2 separate regions of the Homo sapiens genome follow, and region 2 is linked to region 1. Evidence: promoter capture Hi-C in human tissues and cell types (Jung and others, 2019). All regions are on one chromosome and are shown on one strand. Each heading gives the region's core, a stretch centred on a gene start or on the middle of the fragment in contact. The rest is flanking DNA. Distances are from core to core; before and after follow the strand shown. Region 1 holds the start of TMC2 (transmembrane channel like 2). Region 2 has its middle 9.7 kb from the start of STK35.

The links. The method cuts DNA at HindIII sites, captures the fragments that hold promoters and counts their contacts. A contact is called where the count stands out against the background at its distance.
Region 2: a fragment that was not itself captured here is called in contact with the fragment with the promoter of TMC2 in region 1 in 2 of the 25 tissues and cell types used here (aorta and spleen).

What each region holds. Positions count from the first base shown.
Region 1 is chr20:2,533,488-2,539,948 of GRCh38, forward strand. TMC2 (transmembrane channel like 2) reads left to right here and starts at 3,086. Exons shown (of 20, transcript NM_080751.3): 1 at 3,086-3,168; 2 at 3,782-3,829. The coding sequence starts at 3,135. LOC105372504 (a long non-coding RNA gene) reads right to left here. Exons shown (of 3, transcript XR_937204.3): 3 at 1,041-1,123. The HindIII fragment of the contact is 10,824 bases long and covers 1-6,461 here.
Region 2 is chr20:2,088,889-2,095,349 of GRCh38, forward strand. No RefSeq gene overlaps it. Among named protein-coding and RNA genes, the nearest start is that of STK35, 9.7 kb to the right of the region's middle. RefSeq lists enhancers at 5,789-6,290, 6,291-6,461. The HindIII fragment of the contact is 4,435 bases long and covers 534-4,968 here.

The sequences.
Region 1 (6,461 bases), core at 1,836-4,335:
ACTACGGAATCTAACCCTGAACAACAAGGAAACCACAGCCCAGAAGTGACCTTCACAAGAAGGCACTTGGGGATTTAATGGTCAGCCCAAGTCAAAGCCACATATCCCAGCTTCCAGACCCAGACTCAATTGATCTCTTGTCACAGACCTGCCCAGGAGACACAAGGGCTCCGCGTTTTTTCATTTTCTTCATCTGACACATGGGAGTGACAACACTGTCTCACCGGGCTGTTGTGAGAAATAGAGAGGTTGGGGCAAGAGTGCCCCAGGCAGGACCTAGCACAGAGCAGTGTGCAACACACATGCCACGAGGATAATAGTTTTAAGACATCACTGTCGTTTTCTTTCTCACACTCTCTGATGTGAGACCTGCTCCCTCTTGCCTGAATGTGTATTCATCTCAGGAAGCATTGGAATTGATCTAGGTGGCGTGCAAAGAAAAAAGCAAAATACTCTGTGTTCAGTATCTGACTTCCAAACTTGGATTTTTGAATTCCTTAGAAATAATTGTGGAAAGCAGGGTTTGTTGTGAGAGAGAAGAAATCTGCCAATTCCTAGATCACTCCTTCAGACACCAAGGGCTAAACCCAGCCACCAGACAGCAAAAACACATCAGCCCCTGAGGACAAGGGTCTCTGTTTCATTTGCTGATGAATCCCCAGAGCCGAGAACTGACTCTGACCCCAGTGGGTGCTCATTTTTATCTGTGAGGAGAAAAGTGGAGTTATCGACTGTGTGGACAGTCAGGTACAAGGGAATTTGATAGTCCTATCTGGAGGGAATTTCTCTCCGGAGATGAAGGTGTTGTAGAAAGCCTTTCTCCTCTGGCAACAGAGAACAACAAGAGCAGGGTAAAGGCAGGAGGCGGAGCTTGCAGTGAGCCGAGATCGCGCCACTGCACTCCAGCCTGGGCGACAGAGCCAGACGCTGTCTCAAAAAAAAAAAAAAAAAAAAAAAAGAGCAGGGTAAAGGGCTGCTGGGGGTCCTCACTCATCAGGGGAGAGCGCTTGGGGCACCCCCAGCAGAAACCTTACTCACCAGTCCTCTGGGCCACGCTGTCCTGTGGCTGCACAGCTGCCCGTGCTGCTTCTCACATGGACCGGGGTCCTGCACTGGCATGGCCCTGGTGGGGAGAGGGATTTGCGGCTGCAGTCCTGCAGTATGGATGCCAGAGAATGCAACTGAGATCCTCCCACTGCCCTCATGCCCCGGGGACTGGGGCGGCCCTGCAGGAACCAGTTGGGTCGGAGATCAAGGTGTGGGACAAAGAGAAAAGCTTCAAAGCTTGAGATGAACCGTTGCACGTGCATTTTAGAGGTAGCTCCTTTGCCCCTTCCCTCGCCAAGCTTGCATGAGGACAGGCACTCCTACTCCTGACCCCTGAGAAAGTACATGGGCATGATCAGAGGCTAGGTCTGTCCTTGACACCCACAGGAGACTTGCCCTGGGGAAGGCTTTTTATTCTGTTGTGTCATAGAATCCTTTGGCATCCTGGTAAGGTCCGTAGACCCCTTTTTATATTTTTTTTTATTTTTGAGACAGAGTCTCACTCTATCACCCAGGGAGTGCAGTGGTGCAATCTCAGCTCACTGCAACCTCCACCTCCTGGGTCAAGCAATTCTGCCTCAGCCTCCTGAGTAGCTGGGACTACAGACACATCCCACCACGCCCGGCTAATTTTTGCATTTTTAGTAGAGATGGGGTTTCACCATGTTGGCCAGACTGGTCCGGAACTCCCAACCCTAGGTGATCCGTCTGCCTTGGCCTCCCAAAATTCTGGGATTACAGGCGTGAACCACCACGCCCAGCCACAGACCGCTTTTCAGAACATAGACATTAAATCCATAAAATAAAACACTAGGATTACAAAGGAGACCAATGATCCTGAAATAGGCATCAAAATCACTTTAAATATCTTTCATATAATGACAATATATGCTTCCTAATTAAATAACAAGATTTCATGGCAGGTCTCTAACTATCATAATTTTGAAGTTGTGATAACATGTAAGATATTTTGAGACATCCCCAGTGGTTTAATTGGGAAAAAAAATAACTGTGACTTTTGCTGAGACAAAAATCACATCTTTGCTTACATTCATGATTGAGGGAAATGCTAAATCGCAGTTAAGGCTAGGAAAAGTGAAAGTGTAGTATTTTCTCCATCACTATTCACAAACCCACAGAATTCCATCCACAGCTCTGGGGGTTCCAGGGACTCCAGATTAAGAACTCCACACTCTGAGACCTTATGACTGCCTTCCAGAGGGTCCCTCTGACACTTTAGTGATGGTTTTCAAAGCAGCCAAATCTGTGCCTCCCTGAAGCCAGGGAGGAAAAGCTGCTGAGGGAGGGGGCGGGGGCTGAGCGGGAACATTCATCTGTGTGGGCTCAGGACGCCTGCAGCAGGATCCACAGTGCAGGCTCCCAGGGCCTGGCACAGACTGACTGATTCCAACGCCCAGTGCCACTCCTGGGAGTATGCATTTTATTTTTAAAAATTTATTATTATTATTTTTCTTTTTGTGGAGATGGGGTCTCACTACGTTGCACAGGCTGGTCTTGAGCTCTTGGGCTCAAGCAATCCTCCTGCCTCTGCCTTCCTAAGTGCTGAGATTACAGGTGTGAACCACCACATGCCAGAATCTGCATTTTAAACAGAAGCCCAAGTAATAACTTAAACAAACATTCTAGAATTTCCCTGGTGCTTTGTCCCAATCAGGGACTCAAGATAGTGGGAGAGGGCCTGGGATGCTCCTCACACCTCCTCTGGCTAGAGTGCCAGCGGCATCATTGCCAGGAGATAAGCCTGCAGCTCCTGGCCCCTCCAGGGCCCCTCATGTATAACTGATGCCTGAAACATGAGGCCATGCTGCCTCTTTGCAGGGAAACCTGAGAAGAGGAGTGTGTGGCCGGATTGATGGGCCGGGAACTCGTCGCCTTCCTTCACCCGTCTCTCTCCCCCAAACTTCACCCACCTCCACATTCAATCTCAAACCAAGAAGCCCCGCCTGCTGTCAGGTCTAGGAAGGGAGGCCAGCCACCATGAGGGCAGGAAAGCAGCCCAGGCTGAAGGCGTGCATACAGGAGCACGCTGCGTGAGCCTGTGCAGGACCCCAGCAGTGCTGCTGACCATGAGCCACCAGGTAAAGGGCCTGAAAGAGGAAGGTGAGTCCACGTCCTGATCCTGCGGGGCCCGCCCACAGGGTTCCTGGGCAGCAGCAGGGGATGGGGGAAGCACATATGGTGTTCAGAGGCATAGGGAGGAGCTGGGTTTGAGTCCAGGGCCTGTCCCCTGTGCGCTGAGCGACCTCGGCTGGTTATTCAACCTCTCTGATCCTCACGCATGAGATGGGGGTAGTCATCACCTCCTTGCAGGGCTACTGGAAGGATTCAAGACAACCTGTGCACAGCACCTGTGTTCAGGCCAGCACTGGAGACTGTCACGGCCGATGCATGCTCCTCAGAGCCTGCTGGGGCGTCTCAGCCACCTATTGTCTCGGTTAGGGTTGCCTGTTCCGAGCAAGCCCCTCAGCAGATTTCTATCTGTCTCTGTCTCTGTGCAGGGCAGGGGGTGGGGGATGTTCTGACCTCATGACTGACAGTATCAGACAAATGTGACAGGCAGGGGACTCTATAATTTGCTGAGTAAAATCATTGGAGCTGGGTCCCAGTTTGAGGCAGCCACAAATCAGCTGAGGGGTCCCACAGTGACCGGGGGTCTGCAGGGAGGGGGACTCACCAGAGGCCAGCCATTTGTCAGCAATCCTGTCTCTTACAGCACGAGGCGGAGTGAAAGGGCGGGTGAAGAGCGGCTCTCCACACACAGGTGAGATGGGGTGGTGGGGTCTCTGGGGAGCCTGCAGTGCCTGGGTGCCCTCTGCTTAGCCCAACAGTCCAGCCACCCATCCAACATTCTCCTTCATCTCCTTCCCTCTCATTCAACACCCTGCATGGAGCCTTCCTGGGAGGCAAGGTGTTTAACATGGGAGGGGGCAGAGTACCACTCAGAGAAGGTGCTGCTCAGCCCTCGGTGTCAGGGGAGACTCCCAGGGTTAGTGACACTCTGAGCTGAGCCTTGGGAAGCAGTGAACATTCACCAGACAGAGGGCAGGGAAGCTCGGTGCAGGCTTCTGGCGGGTGGTGTGGCCAGATTCACATCCAGGCCCCCGGACTCTAGGAGGAACACTCTTAACCTCCAAAAAGTAGTAGGCATAATGGGTGCTCCATCACCTTCCCACTGGGAATGTGACCACAGCTCTCCCGTGAGCCGGTGAGGGAGCCAACTTGCTCCAGGAGAAGTGGGAGAGCCCAAGGAAGCCATAGGCGGGAGAGAAAACCCTTGGTTGAGACTGAGGGTTCAGGGGAGAGGGGCAGAAGCCACACTCACAGGCTGGGCATCTTCATGTCACAAAATATTATGGATGCGATGCTGTTTTCTCCCCCTTCACGTCCCAGGCAGGGCTGGGTCCTGCGCCCCACACTAGTAGGCAAGAAACCAGAATCTTGGGGAGTGATGGGGTTCTGGGGGGTTGGAAGAGATCTCCTTCCTCCCCCATTCTGGGAGGGAGGGCCCTTTCCACTCCCTCCTGTGGGAGGGCCCTGTCCTGGCCCCACTCTGGCCAGTAGGGAGCTGGCCCCAGGAGCCACTTCATCTGCCCTTTCCGCTCCTGTGACCCGCTGCTGTCTGGTTGTCGGGAGCCTGAGCTTCAGTGAGGCCGCTGTGTTACAAGGGGAGAGACCCAGGAGCAGGAGGCAAGGAAGAGCTGGGCAGAGGCTGGCAGGGGGTGCAGCCATGGCATCTCAACAGCCCTTCCTGGCCCCTATCCCGGAACTTGCCTCAGCCACTGTCCCTTCTTCCTACCCCACCTGCCTGCCTCATCCACTCTTTATCTCAATCCAAAGATGAAGGAGCAAATGTGAGAAAGTTCTATGCCCCAGGGTGGCCAGACGAGAAACCTTCCTCCCGGGGGTCGGGCCACGGTGCTCCCGTAGTGACCACTGCCTGTAGGATGCTCAGGCTGGTTCTCCACACCCCACTCCCCTCGTAGTCATCCAGATGCCGTCCCTTCCGCACCCAGCCTGGCCTCCCTCTGCCTCTGCTGCAGGGCTGTGCTGTGCGGGACTCCCCTGTGAGCAGTAGTCCTTAGTAGGACTGAAATGGAAGACCATTTTGCCTACAACACAAACCCTTTCCTACTGAAATATTCCACGTTGCCGCTGCCGTTTTCCCTTTCCCATAGAACACAGGAAATTGGTCAGAATTTTCACTTCACAGATCTAAGTGGTGAAGGGGTGCAGTAAAGTTAAACATTGGGAATATATTGAATTAACTGAAACCCAGCCCCATGAAGGTTTCCATTTTAAATCTCCTCTGGAGTCACCTGCGACGGGACCTGATATTCTCATCCTTCCCTTTATACTCTACCAGGAGGGAATAAAAGTTTAAGAATACAATGTTCTTTTCTCAGAATAGCTACAGTTTGTTACTGTGTTCCTTGAAAAGAAGGATGAGAACTCTCCCTCCTCCTGTATCATTTGGTAAGTGCACTGAACTGTTGAGATCACGGGACTGGAGGGCTGCCGCAGCCTCTCCTCGGCCTGTGTTTTGCACTGTGAATTCTCTGACCGAGTCAGGTGCTACATAGGAGGAGGCCTGTTACATTTAGGAGAGCGTGTGCTGGGCTTGGAGGCCTTCCTAGCAAGACAGCTGCCTTTCCAGTTCCTAAATTATGCATTATGTGGAGTCTGTTGAAAACTGATTATGAAAGAGAAAAAAACAGCTTATTTTCTGTGTTGAAGAGGTCTGGGGAAGATTGAAGGGCAAATTCTGGCTTGTTTTCCACATTCCATGTGAATTTCGTTCAGTTGGAGAACTAAATTACAGCAGGAATTACAGCTCAGAAAAAAAATTGTAACACCAAATTATATCTACAGTGCTGGGAAGTATGCTTGGTACAGTTCATTACCACAATGAAAACCATTGTATTAGCTGACTGAGGACACAGAGAGAGCTCAGAAGAGGATGCAAACAATGACGTTCCTATTCAGTCCTTTCAAGCAACATAGAGCTGATCTTTATGGGACCCCAGGGAACCCTTCTCCATGATCCCTTGCCTTGATCTCTGCTTCTCTGCCCTTTCTGAGCACTGAACTCAGTCCTAGAGCTCTCTTAGGGGTCATGGCTGTGATAATATTTGTTTTGCTCCGTCCCTTTTGCAACAGGGGGCTACTGCCTTCCAGAGCATTGCGCTGGAGCATTTGTAAGACAAATCATACCTCACTGGCTAACACTGACTAGCTTCCTACCCTGGATAAATTATGCAAAAATAGTCTTTCTTTACGTTGTCTTATCAAAGACTATTTTTCCACAGGGAGTGAGAAGAAGAAAGAGGTTGGGGCAGGAGTGGGCTAAGGAAACCTGCTCTATGATAAATACAGGACAGGTTCTCTTAGCTCAC
Region 2 (6,461 bases), core at 1,501-4,000, 440 kb before region 1:
GAAGCACTCTTATTATTCCCAAGGCACAAGGAGGTTAAATCATTTTGGGGAGGGGCTGCAGGAGAGAGGGGAGAGAAGGAGACTTGATTTGTAGGGCTGCCCATTTCCATAGTGTGAATACTCTCACTGTGACTGATTTCAAGCTCCCAGCATGATGTCACTGAACAGAGTTGGAAAGAGAAGCTCACAGTCAGCTCTCAGAAGCACAGAAGAGCCAACTCCAGCACACACACCACTGTAGGGAACCTTGCACCTGTAAAGAAGGCACCATTGTCTCTTTCCACTTCATTCCTGAAAGAGTTGGTTTCCAAGAACAAAAGAAACGCAAGCAAATACATCACTTCAGGACCTAAAAGCAACTTTCCCGATCCTTATAAGTACTGGGGACTTCAGCTATAGTGTAAACAACACGCATTGTGTTGCAATGGATTTGAAACAGAAACCCAGAAATTAAAATTAAGCATCTGGGTTTTATATTTGCAAATTGCTTTGTCATTTTCTTTATGAAATACTGCACACAGCTATACCACCATAAGGCAATAAAAGAATAATAAATGAATCAGCGCTAGCATTCTGTCAGCACAGCTTCACACACTTATGGAGGGCCAGCAATCTAAATTAGGAAGGTGGTTTAGAAACTTTGTCAGTGCTTTAATGGAAGAGGTGAGTCAAGAGAATCAGACAGGCTTAGATTTGCATCCCAGTTCTACCACTTGCTGGGTACCTCGGACAAAGCACCTCACCTTCTGAGTCTCACCTTATTCATGTGTTAAGTGGGGATAATGCCCACCATACAGACTTCTACAGGCTGGTTGGAATGTTTAAGAAACAAAGTCTGGCCGGGAGTGGTGGCTCATACCTGTAATCCCAGCACTTTGGGAGGCTGAGGTGGGTAAATCGCTTGAGCTCAGGAGTTCAAGACCAGCCTGGGCGACATGGCAAAACCCAGTCTCTACAAAAATTAGCTGGGCGTGGTGGTAAGCACCTGTAGTCCCAGCTACTTGGGAGGCTGAGGCAAGAGGATCACCTGAGCCCAGGGAGGTCAAGGCTGCAGTGAGCTGTGATCACGCCACTGCACCCCAGCCTGGGCGACAGAGTGAGACCCTGTTTCAAAAAAAAAAAGAAAGAAAGAAAGAAATGAAATGAAGTTAACATACAGTATACACCTGGACATAACTCAAGGTGTTTTTTCCCCAAAAAAACTCTTAGAAGAGAGAGTTGCCTTATATTTAAGTTCTTATAAAAGCTCACAGAATCTTTCATATTCCCTAGACTCTCTCAATTACTTTCTTTTAAACAACAAGGTATTGTTGGAGGTAGGCCAATCTATAGAAGTCATCTGAAGGAAGTAGTTAAAAAAAAAGCAAGCAATTTTCGACATGGATGTAAGTCATTACACTGGGGACTGACCTCACACACTTTATAAAGATGTAAGCCTTAAGAAAGAGCACTTTTAAAAGCAATACATAAAATGTTTGGATGTTGTGATCACAAATATAAACCAATGGGAGAAATGGAAAAACAATCTGTCCTAAGATTTAGTGCACTGGGAATTCTAAGATAAAATATTTCAGAGAAAGCATCATATAGAGGCTCAAAAAGTACTGGATCACAATTTGGATAGGAGTGAAAATTATGTGACCTAGAAAGAAGGCTGAGCGACATAGAAATCATCCCCAGTGACTGAGATCAAAGGTGCTCAGAAAGAGATGAAAAGAATTGTTTTGTGAAATGGAAGAATGGGAGAAAATCCAATATTTCTCAATGTTGAAAGTGTGTATGTACCTAAAATAATAAATTAAATATTACACAGATATTTGATTATTTATACCACCTTAAGAATTTATATATTCAAGTTGAGACCCCAAATATTTTCTCTTCTGCAATCTTCTTAGTGTGACAAGTGAGAGGGACACCTTACATTTTGGGCCACCCTATGTTGAGACATGTCTAATAGGTGAAAGCACTTTAAATCCCACAAAGCTTTGTATGATTTGTGACAAGTACTGTTATGGTGGTTAATACTATTTTTATTATGACTTTTCTACCACAGGGTGGACTCTTTGGCTATGCTCCTCTAAGCACTTCTCCAGGTGGGACTCCCCTGAACTATTTCCAAGTTGTGGGAATTTTTTTTTTTTTTTTTTTTTTTGAGACGGAGTCTTGCTCTGTCGCCCAGGCTGGCTGGAGTGCAGTGGTACGATCTCAGCTCACTGCAACCTCCACCTCCTGGGTTCAAGCCATTCTCCTGCCTCAGCCTCCCAGGTAGCTGGGATTACAGGCATGCACCACAATGGCTGGCTAATTTTTGTATTTTTAGTAGAGATGGGGTTTCACCATGTTGGCCAGGCTGGTCTCGAACTCCTGACCTCAGGTCATCCACCTGCCTCAGCCTCCCAAAGCGCTGGGATTACAGGCATGAGCCACCGTGCCCGGCTAATTTCCTAGCTGTATGATCTTAAGCAAGCTGCATAACTTGTCTGTGTCTCTGTTTCCTCATCTGTCAAGTAGAGATAATAACAGGATTGAGAATTCAATAAATTATTATATTGAGAAGTGTTTATAACAGTGTCTGGTAAATGCTTCTTAAATGTTAGTTATTATTTTCAGCAAGGGAGAACTTAACTGTTTGTAAACACATCAGTTTTCTTCACCATATGATGAGATTTTACCACCAGGGACCCTGTCTTATTCATCCCAGGATCCCCAACTCAAACACGGGGGCTAACATATAGTAAATGTTTGCTGAACCTACAATAATTTCTATAAAGAAAGAAAGGTAGTATATAAAGTCCAGAGCCCAACACAGACCCTGGTTCCCATTAGTTGAAAGAGGCACACCGTGAGTGTTGATAACTGGCTCAGCCTCATTTCTCACTGACCAACCAAACTCTAAAACAGCATCACAGTGCGATAGAGCTGGAAAAGACTCAAGACTGGATGTTTCTTCGTGTCTTCTCTAAACAATGAGTTCCTCTACAATAGGAACTGAGTTCAATTCATCTCAGTCCCCAGTCTGGCAAACAGTAGGGGCTTAATAAGTACTCATTGACCAAATGAGTGATGAAGTACATTCTACACTATTGTACGTTACTTGTTTTTTAAACTGAATTTTATTTTTTTAAATACCTACAAAAAAGAACTCAAATTAATACCCAAATATGCACATAAAAACTTCAAATCATACAAAATTATCCTGAAAGTGAAAGAATCACCTAGGGAGAATTCTTGGCATCTAGAGTATTATTTATACAAATGTTTCCATTATGTATACAGAAATTAACATGTAAGTACAAACGCTGTATCATGTGCTAGTTCAAGATCAAGAGCTTTGGAATCAGATACACCAGGGTTGGAATCCAAGTTCCATCGCTTTTTAGTGGTATAGCCTTGAAAAAGTAATAACCTCTTTGTGCCTCAGTTTCTATGGAAAATAGAGCTAAAAATAAAACCTACCCTAAGGCTTATTGGATTAATTAATTAATTATTACATATGAGCACTTAGAACCATCAGAATACACAGAAGTAACTCAATGAAGGTTAGCAATTATGTATACATGTTTAAACAAAATGTGGTCATATTATAGATGCTTGTTTGCATTTGCTTTTTTATGTAACAAAATATTGTGTACATGTATTGTATGGTAGTACATACAGAGCTAACTCCTTCTTTTGATGGGCATGTATTTAAATATATGATGACCCTGTGTAACCAAGCCTCTACTTTTGGTATTGTTTCTAATATTTTATTATTATTTTATATATATATATATATATATCTCACCACAATAAAATCCTTGTTGCACATATATTTTTCCACACCATGTGAGTACTTCTATAGGATAAATTCCTAGAAACGGAATAGCTGATCAAAGTGTATTAATTTTTAATTATATTAATAAACAATGAGTTATCAATTTGCCTTTCTAAAAGACTGTATCACTTTACATTTTGATTAGTGAGTGTACTTTGTTGCCTTATGGTTGTGTACATTTTAACCAGACGCCCCAATAATTTATTTTGAATGTCCCAGTAGTTACAGAATTAAGGACTTTGCCCTGCTCATTTGGCATTATAGCCCTTTATCTTTCCAAAAATCATAAACAACTCCTAAGAACTTAGCAACCAATTTCCTGCAGCAAATATTCAGATACATAGCCTGACAAAAATTTGTATGCCATTCCCAAATGGGAGAGGAAGAAATGTCAGACATTTCTTAGCCTTTTCAGTGGCCAGTAGGAAGAACACTTGAAATTAGACCCATCTATTAAGTTTTGGAGACAGGGTGGCTGTTATCTGCACCCATCTTTGTTTTCTGTAACTGAGACCCTCATTTAATAGACAAGAAGCCTCTCTGTTGAGTATTACTGGGTGCAGTGTCTCTAATCCAGTGTTCCCCAAGTGTGATAAGGGTACTATTGTTAGCCCTCCAGATGTGTTTAGGTAATACAAGGAGGACAGGTGAACCCCTTGGCCAGAAGCTGAACAGCGCCACCAAGCTGACAGGCTGCTTCAGTGGTGGCTAAAGCTCATGCCCACTTTTAGTTTTAATTTCAATTTTAATCCAAATGATAAATAGACATAATGTTTGAGTTAGATACCATTACAAGTTAAATACTACCACAAAGCTTATAACAAAAATCCTGTTTCACCTCTGATCCCATCCCAGAAGCAGTAACTTTAATTCTGTAGTTATTTTTCCACACTTGATTATGGGATCGCTCCTTGATTTAAATTTTTTTTTATTAACTCACGGCTATGGAAGATAAGGATTTAGTTATCTCTCCTTTTCTTCCCCCTCCACCATACACACAGACACACTTTCCGTCTCCAAGTCTCCCAATATAATTATATCATAATTTTTGGTTAAGTCAAAGTGCTGTTTTACATGACAATGACAATGTAATATTATTTCCAGCTGAGTGTTGTAGTTTATGATGATTACAATGTTTTTCTTATCAATTGTTTTTGTTTTCTTGCCTTTAATAATCGCTTCATGTTTTATTTGCTTAGTTTCCTAGGTAATTCATTCAGCTCCTATTCATCCTCGAATTCTTACCAGAACTCAAATCCTCTCCAGTTCCCTCTGCTTTGTGCTCAGTCTAGGAACATGACAGTGTGATGTAGTGGTTCTCAAAGCATGGTTCCGGGATAACAGCGTCAACATCAGCATCATCTGCGACCGTGTCAGAAATGCAAATTATCAAGCTCTACCCGAGACTTACTGAATTAGTCGCACTGTGGGTGGCTCCAGCTATCTGGGTTTTAATCAGCTCTCCAGGTGATGCCAGTGGATTGGGCACTCAAGCTTGAGAGCCATAGGTCTAATGGTTGAAAACATGGATACCCAAACCTAAGGCTGCTGGGGTCCAAATACCAGGTATTCCGGTCATTGGTGATGTAGCAACTTCCAACCCTCAGTCTTCCTAGTTGTCTTTGTTTTTCTTTTGAGACAGAGTCTCACTCGTCGCCCAGGCTGGCGTGCAGGGCATGATCTTGGCTCACTGCAACATCTGCCTCCCAGGTTCCAGCAATTCTCCCACCCCAGCCTCCCAAGTAGCTGGGAGTACAGGCATGCGTCACCACGTCTGACTAATTTGTGTGTTTTCAGTAGAGACAGGGTCTCACCATGCTGGCCAGGCTGGTCTCAAACTCCTGGCTTCAGGTGACCCACCCACCTCTTCCTCCCAAACTGCTGGAATTACAGGCGTGAGCCACCACATGTGGCCAGTCTTCCCATCTATAAAATGGGGACGAAAACAGCCTCTCCCATATAGAGTTATTGCGAGTTGTGTGGTGTTAGGCATCATGACAAGCTCTAGCGTTTCCTGGAGACAGCCTTCCTGGAGCCCTCTGAAAATCCAGAGCCATTATGGGAGGGGAGCTCTCCAAGGCGACTGCACACACTCCTCCAGGCCTCCCTAGTACTCCCTGCTCAGGGGATCTCCTTCATTGAGGCAGCCACCTCAAGCTTCAGTCTTCAGCACCTCCTGCTCCCAAGATCCTCCTCCTATACCCCTGTGCCAGCCTCTCTGCCTTTAACCCTCTCCCACGCTCGGCTCCCCCTTCTACAACCACCACACCACCTCATTCCTAGCCCCTACCCCCATGCCACCTCTGTCCTTAATCCTCAGCCCCAATCCTTCCTCCTCACTCCGCATAATCCCTCTTCCAGCCCCCTGGAGCAGTCTCAGCCCCCTGTCTCCTACCTTCCATTCCCCCACACTCCTTTACTCCATCCACCCTTCCCTCCCAGGACGAAGCTCCCTGCTTTCCCATGGCACCACCCCCAGGGCTGGCTGCCCCTCGGGTGTCCTCAGCCCCCTGAAGTACAGAGATGGATCACCAGCCTCAGCCTTACTATTCTGCCTTCTCACTTGGGACGGTTCTTACCTATCCGAGCTTCAGCACTCTCGTGTGAAAGGAGGGCCAATGGGGTCCAGCCACATCACCGACCGTAA